Regions from separate parts of the Homo sapiens genome. Here all the other regions are linked to region 2. Evidence: promoter capture Hi-C in 16 types of primary human blood cells and fetal thymus (Javierre and others, 2016). All regions are on one chromosome and are shown on one strand. The core of a region is centred on a gene start or on the middle of the fragment in contact, and the rest is flanking DNA. Distances in the headings are between cores, read along the strand shown. Region 1 overlaps SHOC2 (SHOC2 leucine rich repeat scaffold protein). Region 2 holds the start of DUSP5 (dual specificity phosphatase 5). Region 3 overlaps ADD3 (adducin 3). Region 4 overlaps ADD3-AS1 (ADD3 antisense RNA 1). Region 5 overlaps ADD3-AS1 (ADD3 antisense RNA 1). Region 6 overlaps ADD3 (adducin 3). Region 7 overlaps SHOC2 (SHOC2 leucine rich repeat scaffold protein).

Region 1 (2,700 bases), core at 123-2,622, 490 kb after region 2:
CTGAAACATTAACAACAAGAAAATTTTAAATAACATTGCATTTACTTTTATATGCTTTGATGGTTGTCACCAAGTATAGTACAGCTGTTACTCTGAGTAAATGGCAAAGTAAATTAGTAATATTTATTGAAACTTTTTATGATATTGTAGTCATTTATCGATTACCATGTTTATTAAAATAATTACTTTATCTTTCTCCATCCTTTCCAGTCCTAGTATTTTGATGATGTAGCAGAAGATTGAGGTTTGGTGGGAAACTTTGACGTTTGGGTCTTGGTCTGTTAAAAATTTCAACAGTTTTAATTGACCTTTGAGATTTTCACTCTCATTTATTGAAGATGAAGAATTTACCCTAAGTAGTGGAAACTTAATTGAATTATGGTTCTCCTGATACTTCTCCTTTTTTAAATCCTACTCTAGTTCTGAGAAAGTATAACTTAAAATGAAAAACAAACAGAAAGCCCAACACCTGTTCTGCAGAGTTGATGCTAGTCTGGAAGCAGCTGCCCACTCTCTTTTCCTTGGACTAAAGAATCTTGCCCTAAACTTGTAACTGAAAATCAAATCTTGTATTGTCTTAAAATCACTTCCCAGAAATCACTGTATTTACTTGCCTTTTCCTTTTTTTCTTTTTTCTTATAAGTAGACCAGAATGTTTTTTACTTTTTTCTTTATTTAACATGAACATTCCTGGAGTAACTATCACTCCCCTGTGATAATTACTGCCATTTACTTCCAGGCTGAGAAGCTAGTATCGCTGACAACTCATAGGATGTGAGGAAGAGACAGAAGGAAATGGGTTGGGGATTACCAAGTTGCAGTTAAGTAAGAGAGTGCTTAAATACATATTTATAGTTTCTCTGATTTAACTGTTAGTCTGCCTTGTTGAATAAAAAAAGTATTATTTTATATGAATATTTTCTCATTCAGAAATTAGCTATGAACAGAAGAAAATATTAAGCTTTATTCCAACAGTTATTTTGTTTTAAAGTATGAACCTGATGTTTTTTAAAGCCTTCTGGTACCTCTGGTAGTTTTATGTAATCCAGGGAAGAAACAGTCCGAAGTAGGAAAAAATACTTTACTTTGTATTTCTTCTCAAAATGAGATTAGGAGAGAACTGTGCCACAAAACCTTGCCTTCAAGGCTGGAGTGCAGAACAATTCACAGAAGCCTTTTTGTTGCACTGGGCTCTGAAGAAATGTTACATTAATTATGGTTATATCAACAAGTAGCATTTTAGTCATTTTAGTAATTGGGTTTTAGGTAATTACAGTGCAGCGTATGTATAACAACTTTACTAGTTTTCTTTTTAATGGTGGTGTTCTTTGGGTTTTTAACATTCAGGAATTTCTGTGTTGCTTACTTTTCAGTTTGCTTTCAGTTTAATGTTTCTGAAAAAATAATGGTACCTTTGACATTTCATCCTTCCAACCCTGAGTCTTTCCTACTATTTTTTTTGCTACTTTGTTAAAATAAGATTATGATCATTTAAATTAGTCTTACTCGAAAGTTATACTAAATTAAACTAAAGTTGCTGGTTATATTTGCTGAAATTGAAAGAATCTAATTTTAATTCATAGCCATTTGATTTCACCATATTTTAAAAATCTGACAGCGTAAGAGAAAGCAAGCTGTCAAAGTGGAGCACAGAACAATTTGTAGACAAAGTTAAGCACTTGAAAGCTAAATGCCAGTGATTGGCAGTGATCAGCCTACGTTTATATACAGGAGCTCAGCAACAATGATTTTATTTCTTAGTCAAGATGGCTCAACATTAAAGCAAGCTTGTGTTGATTTCTAGGTTGCAGTTTAGTTTGTGGTTAAAACCACTCATTGAGAGGGGTTAGAGCTGAAACCACTGCAGAGGGTGAATCACAATAAATGCCAGACTTCTGATGTTTTCTTCTGGCGTAAAAGAGTTTTGATATTTCATCCTTAATTTTTTTAACCTTTTTTATTTAGCTGAGAGTAATGGACTTTGGCAAAATGTGGATGACTCTTTGAATTTGCCAGTGGTCTCAAGTGATAGGGCCTTTGCAAATGTGAGATTTCTTCATCAGAACAGCCTATTCTCATAGATTACATTGTTAGAAATTCAACCCCTTCCGCCCCAGCAAAAAGCAAAAAATTTAGATCCAAGAAAGGTGGAGGTACCTTTTAATTTAAATTACTACTGGTTTTGGTACTAGATAATGTCATGTAGCAATTTGGCTACATTATTTTTATTTTGTAATTTTTAAATTCTAGGAACCTACTCTGGTTTTAAAAGTGAGAAACTTAAGAGTTATTTGGTTTTGGATGAGAAATTTCAAGAATCTGGTTCTATTTACTAGGCTTTTGAGTTGACAAACATTTAGAATTTGGTTCCCCTACTAACCTTTGTTACCACAGAAAGTTTTTTAGTTTTCAGTGAGAATAAAAAACATTTAAAATATTGTATTTATCTACCATGATACTGTAAAGGGTTATTGAATGAGGCATGTCAGTTGATGGAGTAAGATCATGGAGACTTCTCTCTGTTAATAAATTCTCCCCTCTTATGGCAGACTTCAAAGACCCCTTGGTGAAAGATTCAGCCATTTTGTTACAATGGATCAACTTTCTTCCATAGGGAAAGCAGTGATGTAAAGGAGAAAAAGGGATGGTCTTGTTTACTTCCATTTTTTTTTTTAAAGGTTAGCTGCCTCATTTTATCTG
Region 2 (2,850 bases), core at 33-2,532:
GCATCTGTGACCCAGAGGCAATGCTGGCTGTCCTGGTGTCTGATTTGATTGCATCTGATTTCAAAATTTGATCTCTGCTTCCTTCTGAAAACCTCATTCCCTTATGTCAGTTGTCAACAAGCCCTTGTCTAGTGCGGGCAGACTGTTTTCCATCAAGCAGTCCCAGCCAGGCTAACAATAAAATGGTTGGCAGTGAGCTTGGGGGCAGAAACCTGTTTCCATCCATGTGTCCCCGCAGCTAGCAAAGCCCTGGCACACGGCTGACCCTCAATAAATGCTTGCTGAATGGGTGAATTGTGTCTGCTTCCCCAGGAATAGGGGTGGGAGGCCTGAAGCCCCTGGGGACCGGTGGGGGCAGACAGCCTGAGATTAAACTTGATCCATAGATAATCCCCCAAATCCAGAAGCCACCTGGACAACAGTTGGCTGAACTGAGCTCCATCGTGGGATACATGCTGATGGTACTGCTGAGTTCACCAAGGGTCTCCCCGGGACCAGAAAACAGCTCCTCAAAATACAACTTATTATTCTAATCATTATTGGAGAGTGACAGAGAAAAGAGCGTCAATCCTTTGAGGGCAGAATCCATTTAGGAAGATTAAATGGCTATTCTCACCGCCGACCCCCAACCCCCGTTTTTACTTTTACAAACTTTATTATGAAAAATATCAAACATACAGAAAAGTGGAGAAAACAGTATAACGAATCCGGCCACCCATCACCCAGCCTCAGCGATGACCAACCCGCGCCTGACCTCTCCAGTCATCTATACCCCACCCCTCGAGGCAAATCTCCGACGTCCTCTCCTTACACGCGCAGACCTCGGTAGCGACGGGAATCCGTTCCGGACTCCTCTGGGGCCCTGGCCGGCTCCCTCGGCCCTGCTCAGCGCGGCGCGGGCGGGTTCTCAGCCCACGTCCGTGAAGCTGAAGGCCGGATCGTGCGGCGCCGCCCCGCCCCCCACGGCGCTTCCTCCTCGGTCCGCACCGCGAGGGTCACCGCGGCCCCGGAGCGCCTGGGACACTCGACCGGCAGCCGCGGGTGATGCGCGAGTGAGTCCCTCAGCGAAGCGCGGAAGAGAGAACGAAGAGGCGCCTTCCACTTCCTCTCGCTCTAACGCCGGCACCCGCCCCGCGCGTCCCTCGCCCCCGCTGCCCCGCCCCCTGCAGGGCGTGGCCACGGCCCGAGGGGCGGGGAAACACCCATATTTGGCCTTATATGGGCAGCCGCGTCACGGACGGCACTCATTCACATAAAACGCTGCGCGGCCGGCGGAATCCCCGGCTTCTAGGGCGGCGAGCGGCCGGGCTGGCTATCGAGCGAGCGGGGCGGGAACGCGGAGTTGCGCCGCCGCTCGGGCGCCGGGCTCCGTCGCGGCCGCAGCCCCGCGGGTCGCCCTCCCGTGCCTCGCCCGCGGACACCCTGGCCGTGGACACCCTGGCCGTGGGCACCCGCGGGGCGCGCGGCGCGGGGCCGCTGGCCGGCGGCGGCGGCGGCATGAAGGTCACGTCGCTCGACGGGCGCCAGCTGCGCAAGATGCTCCGCAAGGAGGCGGCGGCGCGCTGCGTGGTGCTCGACTGCCGGCCCTATCTGGCCTTCGCTGCCTCGAACGTGCGCGGCTCGCTCAACGTCAACCTCAACTCGGTGGTGCTGCGGCGGGCCCGGGGCGGCGCGGTGTCGGCGCGCTACGTGCTGCCCGACGAGGCGGCGCGCGCGCGGCTCCTGCAGGAGGGCGGCGGCGGCGTCGCGGCCGTGGTGGTGCTGGACCAGGGCAGCCGCCACTGGCAGAAGCTGCGAGAGGAGAGCGCCGCGCGTGTCGTCCTCACCTCGCTACTCGCTTGCCTACCCGCCGGCCCGCGGGTCTACTTCCTCAAAGGTGAGCGCTCGGGGTCCCTGCCACGCTCGCCCCTCCGGCGCCCCCGGGTCCCCTCCCTGCGCCGGGGCGCCCTCCTACACCCTGGGACCGGGAGAGTCACCACCTGCAGGAGTCTGCACCCTGTGGCTTGTTGTGCGCTTGGGAGGGCACTGCAAATGTCAGCACTCAGAGCTCCCCCTCTTCCCCACCCGCGTTCCTCGAAAGCGCCCGGCAGCGGGTCTGCCCGGTGGTCTGGGTGGAGTTGGTTATGCTGCGGGGGCTGCTGCTGTTTAGCAGTTTGGGGGCCGTCGGCTCGTGCCGGGCACGAGCCCCCTTTCCAGACGCGAGCTTCGCCGCTGTCGCTGGGGTCAGGGCTCGGGGCCTTCCTGATAGACTGATCTGGCGGGATCAGCAGGTCGCGATCCACTCTCCCTTGGTGTGGCGCCGTGGTGCCCCCCTTCCTCCCGCCTAGCCAGCTGTGGTCTTCACCGACCCCCTTGCCTTTTTGACCTGGCGAGTCCCTTCCCTTTCCATTTCATTTTATTGCTTTTTATTGTTTCCCTCCGGCCTCTTCTCCCCTCCTAGGTCTTTTCTCTAGCTCAGTTTGGAGCTCACATCCTTTCCACCCTTTTCACCTCCTCCTTCCTCCGCCCCAGGATTATCCCTGGGACCCATCCTGAGCTGAGCCTACAGCCAGCCAGCCACGAAATAGAGGTGCGCGGGGGCAGGGTGGTATGGAGATTCTGCGGCCTTTGATTTGACACCTCCCGGAGCTACCGCCACAGGCCTGCCCATTTCACCTGCCGGGAAGATAACTTTGGCTTCTGGTGGTGGGTGGGTGATTGACTCTCAAAATCCAAAGCATTGGTTTTTTCTGGGTTACTTCCTATGACTGCTCCTGCTTTGTGTTTGAGTCCTTTGTAACCTCAAATGACACCCGGGGAGACCTGACCCACATGTAGAGATGAGGGTTTAGCCCCAGCAGGGCCCCAAGG
Region 3 (2,864 bases), core at 202-2,701, 430 kb before region 2:
TTTTTCTAGGAATCTTCCTCCCAGCCTTTGCTCTTCAATAACGTATCAGAAAGTAGCATTCTACCAGCAGATACGTTTCCATATCACACTCTACCAGATTCTTAAACTATGAGATAAAACAGTATTAGGCAAAAGTAGCATAATATGGATATAAAATTTCTATTACACTGAGAATTCAGAAAATTCTCTTAGGACAAGATTGGATAGGGCAAGATTGTGTAACCCTGAAATGTGTTAGTCTTGAACAGATATTTCGGGATCTGTTCTGATTATCTCTCCCCAGCAGAAAGATTGTGATTAAGGGAAAAAATAATTCTTAATTATTTGTTGTGGGTTAGTGGTTACATGCAGGTTTTTGTTTTCATTTTGCATAATTTAGTTTCGAACAATGTCTTCATTTTTTTTAACGACTAGAAGGCCTAATTTAGATTTTAAGTGTTTTGTGAATGTGTTGTTAATGTTTCTTATCACTGAAAAATGGCATCAGGAGCTGAAGATGGGAGAAGCTGTTGAATTCAGACAACAGAATGCATTAATACTGTAACACTGCTGTTGGCCACAGTGATTGAACATTGTGATAATTTATGCTGCACTATGTATTTAAATCCATTATATTGTTGAGGTGGAGAAGCGGAGTTAAGTAGTGTACTGATTTCAGACCTAAATTTTCTTGAATTTCTTTATTTATTATGCCTCCTTGCTAAGTAGTTGATATTACATGGATCACTTACATTTTGTATAGGAGTATATATAGAGCTCATATAGGAGAACTTAGATTACTTCTTATAAGAAATTGGATACGAAAATGCTTTGGTTTTGTGAGAAAGAGGATTTAACAGTGTCTCCAGAGAGCTAAGCTAACCAACAGAAAAAATGGCATCAAGTTATAAATTCTTGCTATAGAAAGAGGGGAGGCTTTTCTTTCTTTTAAATCACTTAATTTTTTCAGATAAACTTTTAAATGCAAGTTTAACATATATATAGAAAAGTACAGAAATCATAACAGTACAGCTTGATGAATATGAATATATATATTCATTATATATATATATATATATATATATATATATATATATATATATATAAAGTGAACACCGTGTGTAACCTACCTAAGTCAAGAACTAGAATGCTAGCAACACCCTGCTCTGGGTTCTCAGGCATTTCTCCTCTCTCTGCAAGGCAGCCATAATCCTGACATAATTTAGTTTTGAACATACCATATTCTAAATTCAAAGTTTAGTTTTGAATACCATAGAGTAGTGTTGCCTGTTTCAGGATTTTATATACATGGAATCATTCAATATCTACTCTTTTGTCTCCAGCTTCTTTTGCCCAGCATTTTTTTTCCTGTGGGATTTGTCTGTGTTGTTAAATGTAACAGTAATTCATTCTCTTTATTGTATGTACTGTATTCCATTTTATGAACATAAAATAATTCATTTAGATAATGGTCATTCAGATTGTTTCCAGTTTGCATCTATTAAAAATAATTCTGCCATGAACATCCTTGTTGTATGGTTTTTGTTGTTCATATCCATGCAGCTCTTTTGAGTGTATTTCTGGGAGAGGAGTGGCTGGCTTACAGGGCATGTGTGTCTCCAACTTTTGCAGGTAAGGCCAGTTTCCCAAAGTATTTGTACTAATTGACATACCAACTCTGAGTTCCAGATGTTCCACATCCTTGCCAGTACTTGATATTAAGTTTTTTGTTTCTGTTTTCATTTTAGCCACACTGGTAGGTAGATAGTGGTATCTCACTGTGGCTTTAATTTTTATTTCCCTTATAACTAATGATGATGGGCACTTCTTAATGTACATACTGGGTTTTTGGATGTGCTTTTGCAAAGTGCTGTTCACGTCTTTTACTAATAGAAAAATTGGGTTATTTTTCTTTTTATTATTGATATCAGTGGTCTAAAAAGATATATTCTGGATTATCTTTTTTCAGATACCCTTAAAATGTTAACATCCATTCTTAAAATCCAAAGTTAATAGCTGTCTCTTCCCTTTTTCTGAACAATACAAGGATCTTAAAACACTCTTATTTTCTATTCTTATCTTATATGCTATTATTAACCAGGGTATTAGTTCACCTTGTTTTTAACCACCTGCATTTGTTATTGCTATTTTTTTATACAGTATTTTTAAAACTGCATGTTTCCCAGCCTGGGCAACATGGCAAAACCTTATCTCTACAAAAAATACAAAAATTAGCCAGGGGTGGTGGCACGCACCTGTAGTCCTAGCTATGCAGGAGGCTGAAGTGGGAGGATCGCTTGAACCTGGGAAGCAGAGGTTGCAGTGAGCTGAGATCTTGTCTAGGCGACAGAGCGAGACCCTGTTTCAGAAAAGAAAAAAAAAATTACAAATTTCTTTACTCACTGTTGTTTCTTCCATCCCAGCCTGCCCTTCCAGTTTTAATTTCTTTCTTCCTAGAATTTGTCCTTTAAAAGTTCCTTTAGTAAGTTCATAAAACTTTTTAGTGAGACAGTGTTTTATTTTACTCTTATTCTCCAAAGATAGTTTTGTTAGATATACAATTCCTAGACTGACATCTTGTCACAGCAATTTGAATATATTTCTTTGTCTCATTGCTTTTATTTAGTCTTCTTTTGAAGTCTGTTGCAGGTTTAATTGTCAGTCCTTTGTAGGCAGTCTGTCCCTGGACCACTCTGCAAAAAGTCTCTAGCCATGATTTCCTTGAATATCTCCTCTGATCTATTTCCTCTTCAGGAACTTTGGTATGTTGGACTTTACTAAAGTCTCTTAGTGTGTGTCTGTCTCTGTCTGTCTCTCTCTCTCTCTCTCTCTCTCATTTTTTCTTAGCCTCTCTCTCTCCCCTTTTTTTTTTTTTTTTTTGAGAA
Region 4 (2,797 bases), core at 216-2,715, 510 kb before region 2:
CCAGCTATTTATCTTTGTTTTTATTGCATTTGCTTTTGAGCTCTTGGTCATGAAATCCTTGCCTAAGCCAATATCTAGAAAGTTTTTTCTGATGTTATCTTCTAGAGTTTGTATAGTTTCAGGCAAAAGCAACCAAGCTGAGAAATCAAGATCTCAACTCCTTTTACAATAGCTGCAAAAAAATTAAATACTTAGGAATATACCTAACCAAGGAGGTGAAAGGCCTATACAAGGAAAACTACAAAATACTGCTAAAAGAAATCATAGATGACACAAACAAATGGATCAACATCTCATGCTTATGGATGGGTAAAATAAATATTGTGATAATGACCATACTGCCAAAAGCAATCTACAAATTCAATGCAATTCTCATCAAAATACCACTATCATTCTTCACAGAACTAGAAAAAAAATCTTAAAATTCATGTGGAACTAAAAAAGAGCCTGCATAGCCAAAGCAAGACTAAGGAAAAAGAACAAATCTAGAGGCATCACATTACCTGATTTCAAACTATACGATAAGGCCACAGTCACCAAAACAGCATAGTACTGGTATAAAAATAGGCACATAGACCAATGGAACAGAATAGAGAACCAAGAAATAAAGCCAAATACCTACAGCTAACTGATCTTTGACAAAGCAAACAAAAACATAAAGTGGGGAAAGGACACACTATTCAACAAATGGTGCTTGGATAATTGGCAAGCCACCTGTAGGAGAATGAAACTGGATCCTCATCTCTTACCTTATATAAAAATCAACTCAAGATAGATCAAGGACTTAAATCTAAGTGCAGGCTTTATTTTCATTTAATTTTATTAACTTGTTTGCTTTTTATTATAAAAGTAATATATACTTATGTTTAAGTTGACTTTGGCTGGGAGTGGTGGCTCGCCCCTGTAATCCCAGCACTTTGGGAGGCCAAGTTGGGTGGATCACTTGAGATCAGGCATTCGAGACCAGGCTGGTCGACATGGTGAAACCTCTTCACTACTAAAAACACAAAAATTAGCTGGGTGTGGTGGTACAATTAGCAATTAGCACCAAAATGAGCATCCTTGTGTTTGTATCTTTAAGCACTTATTTGATTGTATTTAGACGATAAATTCCTAGAGTTACTGGGTCAAAAGACACATGCATTTTACATTTTTATAGATATCCTCCATGGACCTTAGTACCAGACAAAGCTGGGATTGAATCTGTACTCTGATACTAGCTGTGTTGCTTCAAACATGTTACTTTATTCTTTCTCAGCCTCAGTTTCCTTGGCTGTAAAATGGATATAGATTATATCTCAGAGTTGTTCAAGGATTAAACAATATGTTTAGTTCAAAATGGTTAGCAGTTCACATATATTCATACCTTTCTCTCCTCTTTATTGTCCCTCTCCTAATTCCTCTCTGAGTTTTTGCAAAGATTTGGCAAATATCCCATTTCATTTTATGTCAACAAATATTTATAAAACATTTAATATGTGCAAGTTTTGACAAACGCTGTAGGGATTCTAAATGTTTTCTTTTAAGGCACAGTCCTTTCTGGAACTTACAGTATTGTACAGGAGAAAACTATCTCCCAGGTCCTACAATAGGGCAGGCCCTTACTTAACATGTTTGGAATGAGTGAGTAAAGAAAGGAAGGAATGTTGCTGAATGAGTAACACCACAGTCTGGAAAAGAGCTCAGTGTAGGTCCTAGCAGCATAGAGTGGAGCATGGAGTCAAAAGTGACGGAGATGAGATTTTGCAAAACTTTTCTTCTGGATTTTACCTAATCACAAGGGAGGCATTGGGGCTGAAGGCCAAAAAAGCATTTGCTAGAAATATACTTAAAGTCTTATGTTTTAACTTAAAACTTCACATGAAGTTTGCATTCTACTCCATAACACATTGTTTGTTTCCAAATAAATGGAATCTTTCTCCTCAGTCCTAGCATAAAATGAACATTCCAAGAAAATGTACTATATTTATTGGGTGGCTCTAGTTCCTCCTGACATGCTTTCAGAGATATATACACCCAAGTTTGAGAAGCGTGAGATTAAGATAGATGCAGAATGAGTTCTCACTTCATGCTTCACCAGCCATCTCCCCTCTGTCTGTACTACACACCCACTCACAGCCTCATCCCTCTCAACTTTCTGCTAAAACTCTTACCTACCCCTGTTTTCTCTTCAATCCTGGTGTTGTTTTCCTTACCAATCTAAATTTTATGTTGACACTCTGCTACTCAAAATATATGTAAGAAAAAGAAATCAGCTACAAAACTCTTCCAACATCACTTGAGGTCATTAAAGTCTCAAGGGACCCTGTCATTCATCCACATTGTGTTAGCTTCTTCTGTCTCATCCCGGTCATCTATGACAATAGACTCTCAGAGAGATGTAGCTTGTTTCATTTAAATCTTGAAAAGCACCCAAACTAATGCTGTGGTCAATTAATGTTGCTTGGGTTCTGAGCATTCAGCTGAGTGTTCTCCTCTGTGTTTGAAGGACACTGTAAATGGAACACATGTTTTGAATTGCTTCTCCAGAGCTCTGATCTTTCCACCCCTTCTCTACCCCCACTGCTTGGGCTCTGGGTCAGTCCTCATCATCTCTTGTGTGGATTATTTCCCTAGCTCCTTCCATGGGTCTTCTTGTCTTTCTATTCTACCCTCCTCGAAGCTGCTAAAGTAGCTTTTCTAACCCAGAGGTCAGCCCACACTACTCCCTTGCTTAAAACTTAGGTGGCAACAATCTATAACCATGGGCAAGGACATTCCATTTCACTTATAAACATGAGTGAAAGAAGCCAGATAC
Region 5 (2,904 bases), core at 249-2,748, 490 kb before region 2:
TTCTATTCATATTTTGAGATCACACCTCTTCATTTACTTATAGAGAAAAAAACATAACTGGTAAGTGCTTAAATCAAGTAATATAAAGATAAAATGTAAGGTTATAATGCAGATTCTCAGGTGGACACGACACATTTTAATAGTGTAAATAGCAGATTCATATGCACTTAGAGTCAGTCAATCCACTTGTGTTTCTTAATTTTGCTGACCTTTGAATTGCCACTGAAATAGCATTAATACTGTGCTATTATCCAAAAATTATTTTAGATATATTTTGTTTTTTCTATACATAATACTGTAATTTTATTTTATTTTTTTTTGAGATGGAGTCTTGCTCTGTCACCCAGGCTGGAGTGCAGTGGCGCGATCTTGGCTCACTGCAAGCTCCGCCTCCCGGGTTCAAGCAATTCTCTGCCTCAGCCTCCTAAGTAGCTGGGATTACAGGCGCCTGCCACCACGCCCGGCTAATTTTTGTATTTTTAGTAGAGACGGGATTTCACCATCTTGGCCAGGCTGGTCTTGAACTCCTGACCTCGTGATCTACCTGCCTCAGCCTCCCAAAGTGCTGGGATTACAGGCGTGAGCCACCACGCCCGGCAATATTGTGATTTTTTATATCACATGAGCACACATTGAAACCTGTCAACAATATATTTTCTAATACTGGTATTCACTGAAGTTCCAAGTATGCTTATAGGTAGGACTTGAATCCATTGCTTCTAGTCACATAAACGAGTTTTAATTCATTTTTCTTTTTATTCTTATATTAAATACTAAATAGCTTTCCTTTATATAGTTATTATTTTAGTACGATGTTGAATATTAGCACAAATATTAAATTAAATTAAATATTAGCACAAATTACTAATCAGTTTCAAGGCATACAACTTTATTTTGCCATTACCCCAATGTTTGAAATTAGCAGGGCTCTTTAAAACTGGTGCTTCTAGCATTTCATTGACTTACACTAAAATCATTGCCTCCATTCCTCAACCACCCAGTTAATTTTAACCTTGACCTCCCACAGCTGTACTCATTTACTCAGTCCACAAAACTCCCTGATTCCATCCTCTCTGCCTCTTATGAAGCAATACTAGAGAGGAAAAACAAAACCCATTCCTTTAAGAAAGATTCCGCCTCCTCTCATAAGCAAGCGCCTAATGGTAATTGTAGAGTTTACTAAGTCAAACACTTACTACTCAGCATTGAGAGAAGCTGCTGCTGCTAATGCTGCTGCTGCTGCTGCCGCCGCCGCCGCTGCTGCTGCTGCTGTTGGTCTGAGGCTGCAGTAGGTTTCTGTGCAGCATTGCAGAATCCACACCTAGAGAACAGAAGACACAGACACGTACGTCTACTACCCTTGTTAGAAGGAAGCTTTGGATCTTCGGTGGGTAAGGAGATCTATCTAGCTATTTTGTCCAGAAACTGTGAGAAAAGGAATGATCATGGAAAAGACTGTTCATCAGACATGCTTAAAATGGATTATGTTAATTTGTCTTCCTTTGGTGGTGGTGGGGGTGTCCAGATTTGCGACTAGCAAAATATAGTGAGGACTATATTCTGATAGGTGCCCTTAGGATACTTTTTTTGCTATTCATAAAAAGGCTAACCTTGATGCATGCAAAGCTTTTCATTTTTTTGCTTTTTAAATGCAAGAAAATATCCAGCCACTCCCAATATCTCTCTCAAATACTGCAGATATTTTTAAATACCAAATAAAATGTCAGGCTGAGCATTTTCTAAACAATTTTCTTCCTCAAACTAGGCAGCCTTCCCCACGATTCGTTAAGAGTATTTAAAAATAATAAGGCATGGTTGGATTTTTTGAGCAAATGGGAGATGGTGGTAGACTAAAATTTCTACAGCCTTAGTCCAGTGGAGAGAGAAAACGATAAATGCATCACAGTTTGTGTCAAGACAAGATTCATTTTCCACACTTCATATGTGGGAAGAGGAAACTACATTTTAATTAGCACATTTTTAGGGAGGAGGGGGGGGATGAAGATGAGGCGGATGGCGTGAGGTATTTGAGGGGGACGAGTCTGCAGATGAGGAAAGGAAATGAAGTGGATTGTCGCCAGTGCCTTGGAAACGAAGGGGGATAAGGGTGGGGAACGAAGTTTGTTGTGTGTGTTAGGGTGGGGTTGGCCCAAGGGACCATGAATCATTAGAATGGCGCTCGGAGGGGTGTGCTTGCAAGTGTACTGGTGCAGGAGGGACGTGGAAGTCGTGGGTGGCAGAGAAAAGTGTGCACCGCTGGGAGGTCTATTTCAAGAATAGGTTGGGATGAGAAACATGTCTGGGCGAGGGGGGTGGGAGGCCCGGTGTCACCTGTGGATGGATCCACAGCCCTGCAATTGCGTGTTGCAAAGTTTGCCCGGCCCCGCATTCATTTTGAAGGTTCTTGGCGATGCCTCGACTTTTCGCCTCAAAGAAGTGAGCTCTCATAAGGTTCAGAGGCCGGGAGCCAAAGCGGGAGTGAAGACTCTCGAGGGGTCCAAATGAAGCAGAAGCGAGAGCCCCTGTCCTCCCCCTATGTGGAGGTGAAGCAGGGGTTGTGGGGACTAGGCGCCCGCGAAGGCAGCTGTGCTGAGAGCAAAGTCCAGGCCCCACGGGGGGCGTGCGGAGGTTGAACCTTTGCAGTGGCCTCCTACAGCCCCAGCAGCCAGCGTGGGCGGCCGAGGCTGACTCAAAGCGGCGGCTCAGCCTCGGGAGTAGGAGTAGGGGGCTCGCTCATTTAGGGCGGGAGACATTTCCGAGGCGCCCCTCCTCCCCTTCGCGGTCGGGTTTCTATCGGGGTCGTTTCCCCCTCTGGCCCTCCGGGGACGCCGCGGATTCGAGCTGCACAGTCAGAAGAGGACGTTGAAAAGGCGCCAGGCAGCCGCCCCGAACCAGGCCCTCCCG
Region 6 (2,716 bases), core at 71-2,570, 470 kb before region 2:
AGAGGGAGGGGATAAGGGCTGAAAAACTGTCCAGCACAATGCTTACTTCCTGGGTGATAGGATCAATTGTACCCCAAACCTCAGCATCACACAATATACCCGTGTAATAAGCCTGCAGAGGTACACCCTGAATCTAAAATAAAAGTTGAAATTATAAACAGAACTTTTGTGCAATGGAATAACAAAAGAATTGAAGGCATTGGGCTTTGCAATATCAGGTATTGCATGTTGTCATTACAGGAAGTCATTGTGCCATCTTGGTTTCCCCTTAATAACATATGGTGGTTTATCTTGAAACTTCAAAAGTAAACATAGCGTAAGCACCTATAATAAATTATTGCCAAAAAAAATCACATGCAGAATTATTTTTGCTATGTGAATTTAGTGGAGAATCCAATCCAGTAAGACTTTTTGCACATTTGAATGGTGAAACAAGATGATTTGGCTCCTCTAGTAGCTTTGTTGCATGCACAGTTGACCATTTTTGTTTGTAGCTCCTTGTAATAAGATATTTAACACAGGGCTTTATATTGGGACATAGTGATTTTATAAATGGGTGGGAGAAAACACTGAATTTGACAGAACTAACTTCTAGATTATTTCAATGTAAAATTTTCATGCTTAAAATTTTTAAGTGTTAGATGTTTAAAATAACTTACTCAAAAGTAATTCTTAGTAAAATGAAAATCAGTGAAAAGCACTCAGTTTTTTAAAAGCAAGAATGATTTTATTGGTTTCAAAGTTAAACTTACTATTTGAATCAAATTTTTATAAAATCCATTTATTTTTTAAATACTTGAAATTTTGAGTAAGAAATATAAGGACATGGAACAAAATAAGGCACAAAAGCGTATACAGTGAAAAGTAAGTTGTCACCCCCAAACCACTCAAGTTTCCTCCTCTTTTCTTTTTTTTTTTTTTGGAGACAGAGTCTCACTCCATCACCCAGGCAGGAGTGCATTGGGTTCAAGTGGGTTCTTGTGCCTCAGCCTCCTGAATAGCTGGAGTTACAGGCGTGCGCCACCATGCCTGGCTAATTTTTTTGTATTTTTAATAGCGTCGGGGTTTTGCCATGTTGGCCAGGCTGCTCTTAAACTCCTGGCCTCAAGTGATCCACCCACCTCGGCCTCCCAAAGTGCTGGGATTACAGGTGTGAGCCACCGCACCTGGCTGTCATTTTATTAAAACGTTTCCTTTCCTAGCGTCCGTTCCACTAAGGCAGAGGTATAGAAAGTGGGAGGTGGTAGCTATAATAATCTTTCACTCATACTATAGTATAAATAATACTTTTTAAATTTAATAATACTAATTTAATTTAATATTTTTTTAATTTTAGTTCGATATTTGTGGGAGAGATGGGAATCTTCAGAGTGGTGGTAGCCAACTTCTGCCTCCATGGTTCAATTAAAAGCAAGTCCCCTAGTTAATAGAAGTAAGGGGTCTCTAGGCTTGCAAGTTTCTTCAGATGCTAAAATTATGCCTTTGTGTAAAATCAGACTTTCTGTTATATGAGTAGACGTAGGAATTCTCTGTATACTTTAAAGGAGAAGCAAATAGAAATAGAGAGGGTGATAAAATCTAGATTCATAGAATTGTGGAAACCTTACTTCATTTTAAGAGTGAAGAACCCAGTCTGATTAAAGGAAGTTCCGTGTTTAAGGCAACATGTTGCTTGTGGCAGATCTAGACTCAAAACTGAGATTCCTGCCTCTGTCCAGTGCTTTTTTCACTTCATTACATTACGAGCCATCTTAACTCCATTCATGCAATTCTGGGGTAAGGGGTTTTGTCAGAATTCCACCTGACCTTCCCTAGAGCAGGGTTTGGACAGGATGAGAGACCCCAATCTCTCAGATTTGAGGCTTCTTTTCAAGATATCTGTTTTTCCCTTTTCCTTAAAAAAGAAAAAAAAAATTTCATCGAATTTGGGAAAGTTTTGTGAAGTTTTTTCCAAAATCTGTAATGTGTCAGGATCTTTCTTGTTTTCTTAATAGAAGCCACACTGATATTATGTATATTGTTCCAATTTTAGTGTGCTCACCACTGAAGCAAGTCATGTACATGGTAAATGTTTCTGACATGTTTAGGAACATTATATAGAAAATTCAGAATGGATGTATTTGGCTGCCTTGACATTCCTTTTTCTTTTGGAAAGGAATGTATTTAAATGAGAAACAGTTCCACCCCTCCAATGAAAAGGAATAGTTTTAGGTCATTTGAGTGAAATAGATTATAGAACTTATGACCCCAGTTTTCTTGTTTTTTTTTTTTTTTTGAAACGGAGTTTCACTCTTGTTGCCCAGGCTAGAGTGCAGTGGCGTGATCTCGGCTCACTGCAACCTCAGCCTCCCGGTTCAAGCAATTCTCCTGCCTCAGCCTCCTGAGTAGCTGGGATTACAGGCACGTGCCACCACGCCTGGCTAATTTTGTATTTTTAGTAGAGATGGGGTGTCTCCATGTTGGTCAGGCTGGTCTTGAACTCCCGACCTCAGGTGATCCGCCCACCTCGGCCTCCCAAAGTGCTGGGATTACAGACGTGAGCCACCACACCCGGCTGATTGTACTTTTAAGTCAGTTTTAATAGGACCCAGGTACAAGGTCAAGGTACTTGAGAATTTTTGGATTTAATGTTTTACATTGGTTTAAACTGGTTGGAGTCTGGCTGTGTTTCCTGGTGACAATATTCATATTAAAAATCTTATAGGTCAGTTTTTAT
Region 7 (2,700 bases), core at 162-2,661, 470 kb after region 2:
AAAATTTTGATTCAGTGATTTGTGATGGAGCCTGGGAATTTGTATTTTTAAACAAATATCTCAGGTCACGTATTTTCTTTTTTCGTTTTTATCATTAGAAAAGTTTACTTTTTATTTCTTTCCAAGTTTTCTTACCTTTTAATAGGGGTAATCTTGTTCTATCCTCTGTACTTAATATATGTGATTTTACACCTTATATATTTCATTTGATCCTTATATAGGAGGTGTCCTTCTAAATTTAGGGTATACATATCTTGCTAAATAGAAATTTGATTTCCAGAAACTTGATATAATGACATTTCTTAAATACAAATTGATAAGCAATGCCTGTAACCCTTTAGCTATGCATATTTCCCATTATTCAGTTGTATGGTTTTAGTAAATGTACTTTCATATTGGCTTATCAGCATTATTTTCTGAATCAGTATCTCTAGAGTTTTTCTTAGTCTCTCTCCATCGCAGTGCAAAATAATTTTTTTCTTTTTTTTTGAAAGGGTTGAATAGTAATAGATAGAGCTCTCCTGGTGTGCTAGCAAATAATGATGTATTTGTTTAATTGTAGAATCTTATATACCAGTAAAGTTCATACTGTGCAGTTTCAAATTTACAGATTATTCATCCTCTACCCCAGTTCCTGTTATTTCTGCACATTTGACCATTTGCTTCAGCAAAGTGACACATTTTCAGTGTCCCGTGCAAACTAAGCTCCACTCCCTATTCTAGGCAAAACTTTCTTTTTCATGCCACCCACCTGTAATGCTTTGCCATCTCTCCTTTACTTGCTTGAACACAACCCATTAATCCAGGACTAGTTAGCCTAAGTCCTGTATGCTTTTCTCAACCATTCTCACTGTTACAAATTTTCTCAAAAGTGCTATAGCATATGCCACTTGCCTGAGGATTTAATAATATGCTGTCTTATCAATTACTTGTTATATGTGAGTGTTTTGGCTGTCTAATTAAACTACAAGCTTGTATACAGAGAGGTTCACATCCTATAAAAATAAATTATTAGCAGAATCCTTAGCACTTAACATTATCACATCCTTTTGGTAGTCTGACAAAATTCTAATAACTGTTTTAACCTCTTAAGCTAGTCAGGTAAGAAGTTATTTTATCTTTAATCCCTAGTACCAAATAATTACCAGTTAGTTAAATAGAGTTAACAATAGAGTCATAAAATAAGAATTACTAATTTTAAATTTCAAAATGTTTAGGGAGGACTGATTCCTTCCATAAATATTTTACTAATCTTTTTGTCCTTTGCCAATCTTTTCGGCCTGTCATTTTACCAGCAGACTTTTTCTGCTTTTAAGAACCCTGTGCCATTGATCTTTCTTTTTCAGTCCCTAGAATATACACATCATTGGACATTGCCCTTTGTCACTGGTTTTCAAAGGTGATCCTCAGGTCTACCTCCATCAGAATCATGTAGAGTGCTTATTAAAGTACAGATTATTAATGCCCCTTTCCCTGAACTGTGCTGTTTTTCATACATATTTCACTTTGTTCTTTTTTTTTCTTTTGCCAGACTGCTCTCTCTTCTATCGTCACCACCACTGAAATCCTTTCTGTTATCTAAAGCTATCCGCCAATTAATTGTAGCTAGAACTGTTTTAGTGTAGTGGGTTAGGAACATAGGCTGTGAGCACATACTACCTAATTTGGAATATTGGCTCCATCATGTTTCCAAGATCTCAGAGTTAGTTACTTAAAAATATTTCTGTGCTTTAGTGTTTCTTTGTATAAAATGGGGATAACAATGTATCTCATAGGGCTGTTGTATGTGTTATATTAATACATGTGAATTCCTCAGAATAATGCTAGTACATAGAAAGCACTTAATAAATATTAAGCTTATTGTTGTGGTTTCTTCCACTTTTTAGGTCTTATAAAATTTTCTAGTAAAGTAACTTACATTCATACATCTTCCTATTAGATTGCAAGTTTCTTGAAGGTAGAGCCAGCCTTATTAAGCTGTGTAGTTTTAAATGGATTTTTACCTATAAAGGATGTTCATAAATATTTGAGAATGAAATCATAGGAAAATGGCAAACTCTAATAAGATTGTTTTTCAGAGCCTATTTAATATAAATTATCTAAAGTAATTTAATACTGTCTATATTATATTTCAGGAACTCTAATGAATCATTGATTGACCAGCACTATTTTACCAGTTGGAATGAATGATCAGAAATGGGCATAGTGCTTTTAGATCCAACATGTAACAGATGGATGTTACTCCATGCTGATTACTTCTTCAAGCCAGTACTTTTTTGATTGTGTAGGATCTTTGTCTCTTCATCTTTGAATTCAATTACTGGAAAATAAAAGGAGTTCATGTAGTTTTTGTCCAGGCTTGAGTCACCATGAGTAGTAGTTTAGGAAAAGAAAAAGACTCTAAAGAAAAAGATCCCAAAGTACCATCAGCCAAGGAAAGAGAAAAGGAGGCAAAAGCCTCTGGAGGTTTTGGGAAAGAGAGCAAAGAAAAAGAACCTAAGACCAAAGGGAAAGATGCCAAAGATGGAAAGAAGGACTCCAGTGCTGCCCAACCAGGGGTGGCATTTTCAGTTGACAATACGATCAAACGGCCAAACCCAGCACCTGGGACTAGAAAAAAATCCAGCAATGCAGAGGTGATTAAAGAGCTCAACAAATGCCGGGAAGAGAATTCAATGCGTTTGGACTTATCCAAGAGAT

The links. Contacts are between HindIII fragments. The CHiCAGO score rates a contact against its expected background, and 5 or more counts as called.
Region 1: a contact is called between a fragment that was not itself captured here and the fragment with the promoter of DUSP5 in region 2, in 7 of 17 cell types (activated CD4 T cells, naive CD4 T cells, total CD4 T cells and 4 more). The highest score is 8.0, in activated CD4 T cells.
Region 3: a fragment that was not itself captured here is called in contact with the fragment with the promoter of DUSP5 in region 2 in 3 of 17 cell types (activated CD4 T cells, monocytes and total B cells); the score reaches 11.2 in activated CD4 T cells.
Region 4: a contact is called between a fragment that was not itself captured here and the fragment with the promoter of DUSP5 in region 2, in 5 of 17 cell types (neutrophils, monocytes, M2 macrophages and 2 more). The highest score is 16.6, in neutrophils.
Region 5: a fragment that was not itself captured here is called in contact with the fragment with the promoter of DUSP5 in region 2 in 14 of 17 cell types (activated CD4 T cells, fetal thymus, neutrophils and 11 more); the score reaches 13.5 in activated CD4 T cells.
Region 6: a fragment that was not itself captured here is called in contact with the fragment with the promoter of DUSP5 in region 2 in 7 of 17 cell types (neutrophils, activated CD4 T cells, monocytes and 4 more); the score reaches 12.5 in neutrophils.
Region 7: a fragment that was not itself captured here is called in contact with the fragment with the promoter of DUSP5 in region 2 in 5 of 17 cell types (M0 macrophages, naive B cells, non-activated CD4 T cells and 2 more); the score reaches 6.8 in M0 macrophages.

The regions. Positions count from the first base shown.
Region 1 is chr10:110,991,448-110,994,147 of GRCh38, forward strand. The region is part of intron 3 of SHOC2 (SHOC2 leucine rich repeat scaffold protein); the gene reads left to right. Among named protein-coding and RNA genes, the nearest start is that of MIR548E, 3.9 kb to the left of the region's middle. The HindIII fragment of the contact is 826 bases long and covers 960-1,785 here.
Region 2 is chr10:110,496,625-110,499,474 of GRCh38, forward strand. DUSP5 (dual specificity phosphatase 5) reads left to right here and starts at 1,283. Exons shown (of 4, transcript NM_004419.4): 1 at 1,283-1,876. The coding sequence starts at 1,498. RefSeq lists an enhancer at 1-328 and silencers at 810-1,339, 1,350-1,489, 1,560-1,619, 1,740-2,009. The HindIII fragment of the contact is 7,811 bases long and covers 1-2,850 here.
Region 3 is chr10:110,062,699-110,065,562 of GRCh38, forward strand. The region is part of intron 1 of ADD3 (adducin 3); the gene reads left to right. Among named protein-coding and RNA genes, the nearest start is that of ADD3-AS1, 56 kb to the left of the region's middle. The HindIII fragment of the contact is 7,149 bases long and covers 1-2,864 here.
Region 4 is chr10:109,985,965-109,988,761 of GRCh38, forward strand. All of the region lies in intron 2 of ADD3-AS1 (ADD3 antisense RNA 1), which reads right to left. Among named protein-coding and RNA genes, the nearest start is that of ADD3, 21 kb to the right of the region's middle. RefSeq lists an enhancer at 1,381-1,882. The HindIII fragment of the contact is 9,885 bases long and covers 1-2,797 here.
Region 5 is chr10:110,004,761-110,007,664 of GRCh38, forward strand. It overlaps ADD3-AS1 (ADD3 antisense RNA 1), which reads right to left. Exons shown (of 5, transcript NR_038943.1): 2 at 1,197-1,321. It also overlaps a transcript of ADD3 not described here. Among named protein-coding and RNA genes, the nearest start is that of ADD3, 1.8 kb to the right of the region's middle. RefSeq lists enhancers at 1,869-2,424, 2,425-2,904 and a silencer at 2,807-2,904. The HindIII fragment of the contact is 252 bases long and covers 1,373-1,624 here.
Region 6 is chr10:110,024,024-110,026,739 of GRCh38, forward strand. The region is part of intron 1 of ADD3 (adducin 3); the gene reads left to right. Among named protein-coding and RNA genes, the nearest start is that of ADD3-AS1, 17 kb to the left of the region's middle. The HindIII fragment of the contact is 8,514 bases long and covers 1-2,716 here.
Region 7 is chr10:110,961,990-110,964,689 of GRCh38, forward strand. SHOC2 (SHOC2 leucine rich repeat scaffold protein) reads left to right here. Exons shown (of 9, transcript NM_007373.4): 2 at 2,136-2,700. The coding sequence starts at 2,370. Among named protein-coding and RNA genes, the nearest start is that of MIR548E, 26 kb to the right of the region's middle. The HindIII fragment of the contact is 885 bases long and covers 970-1,854 here.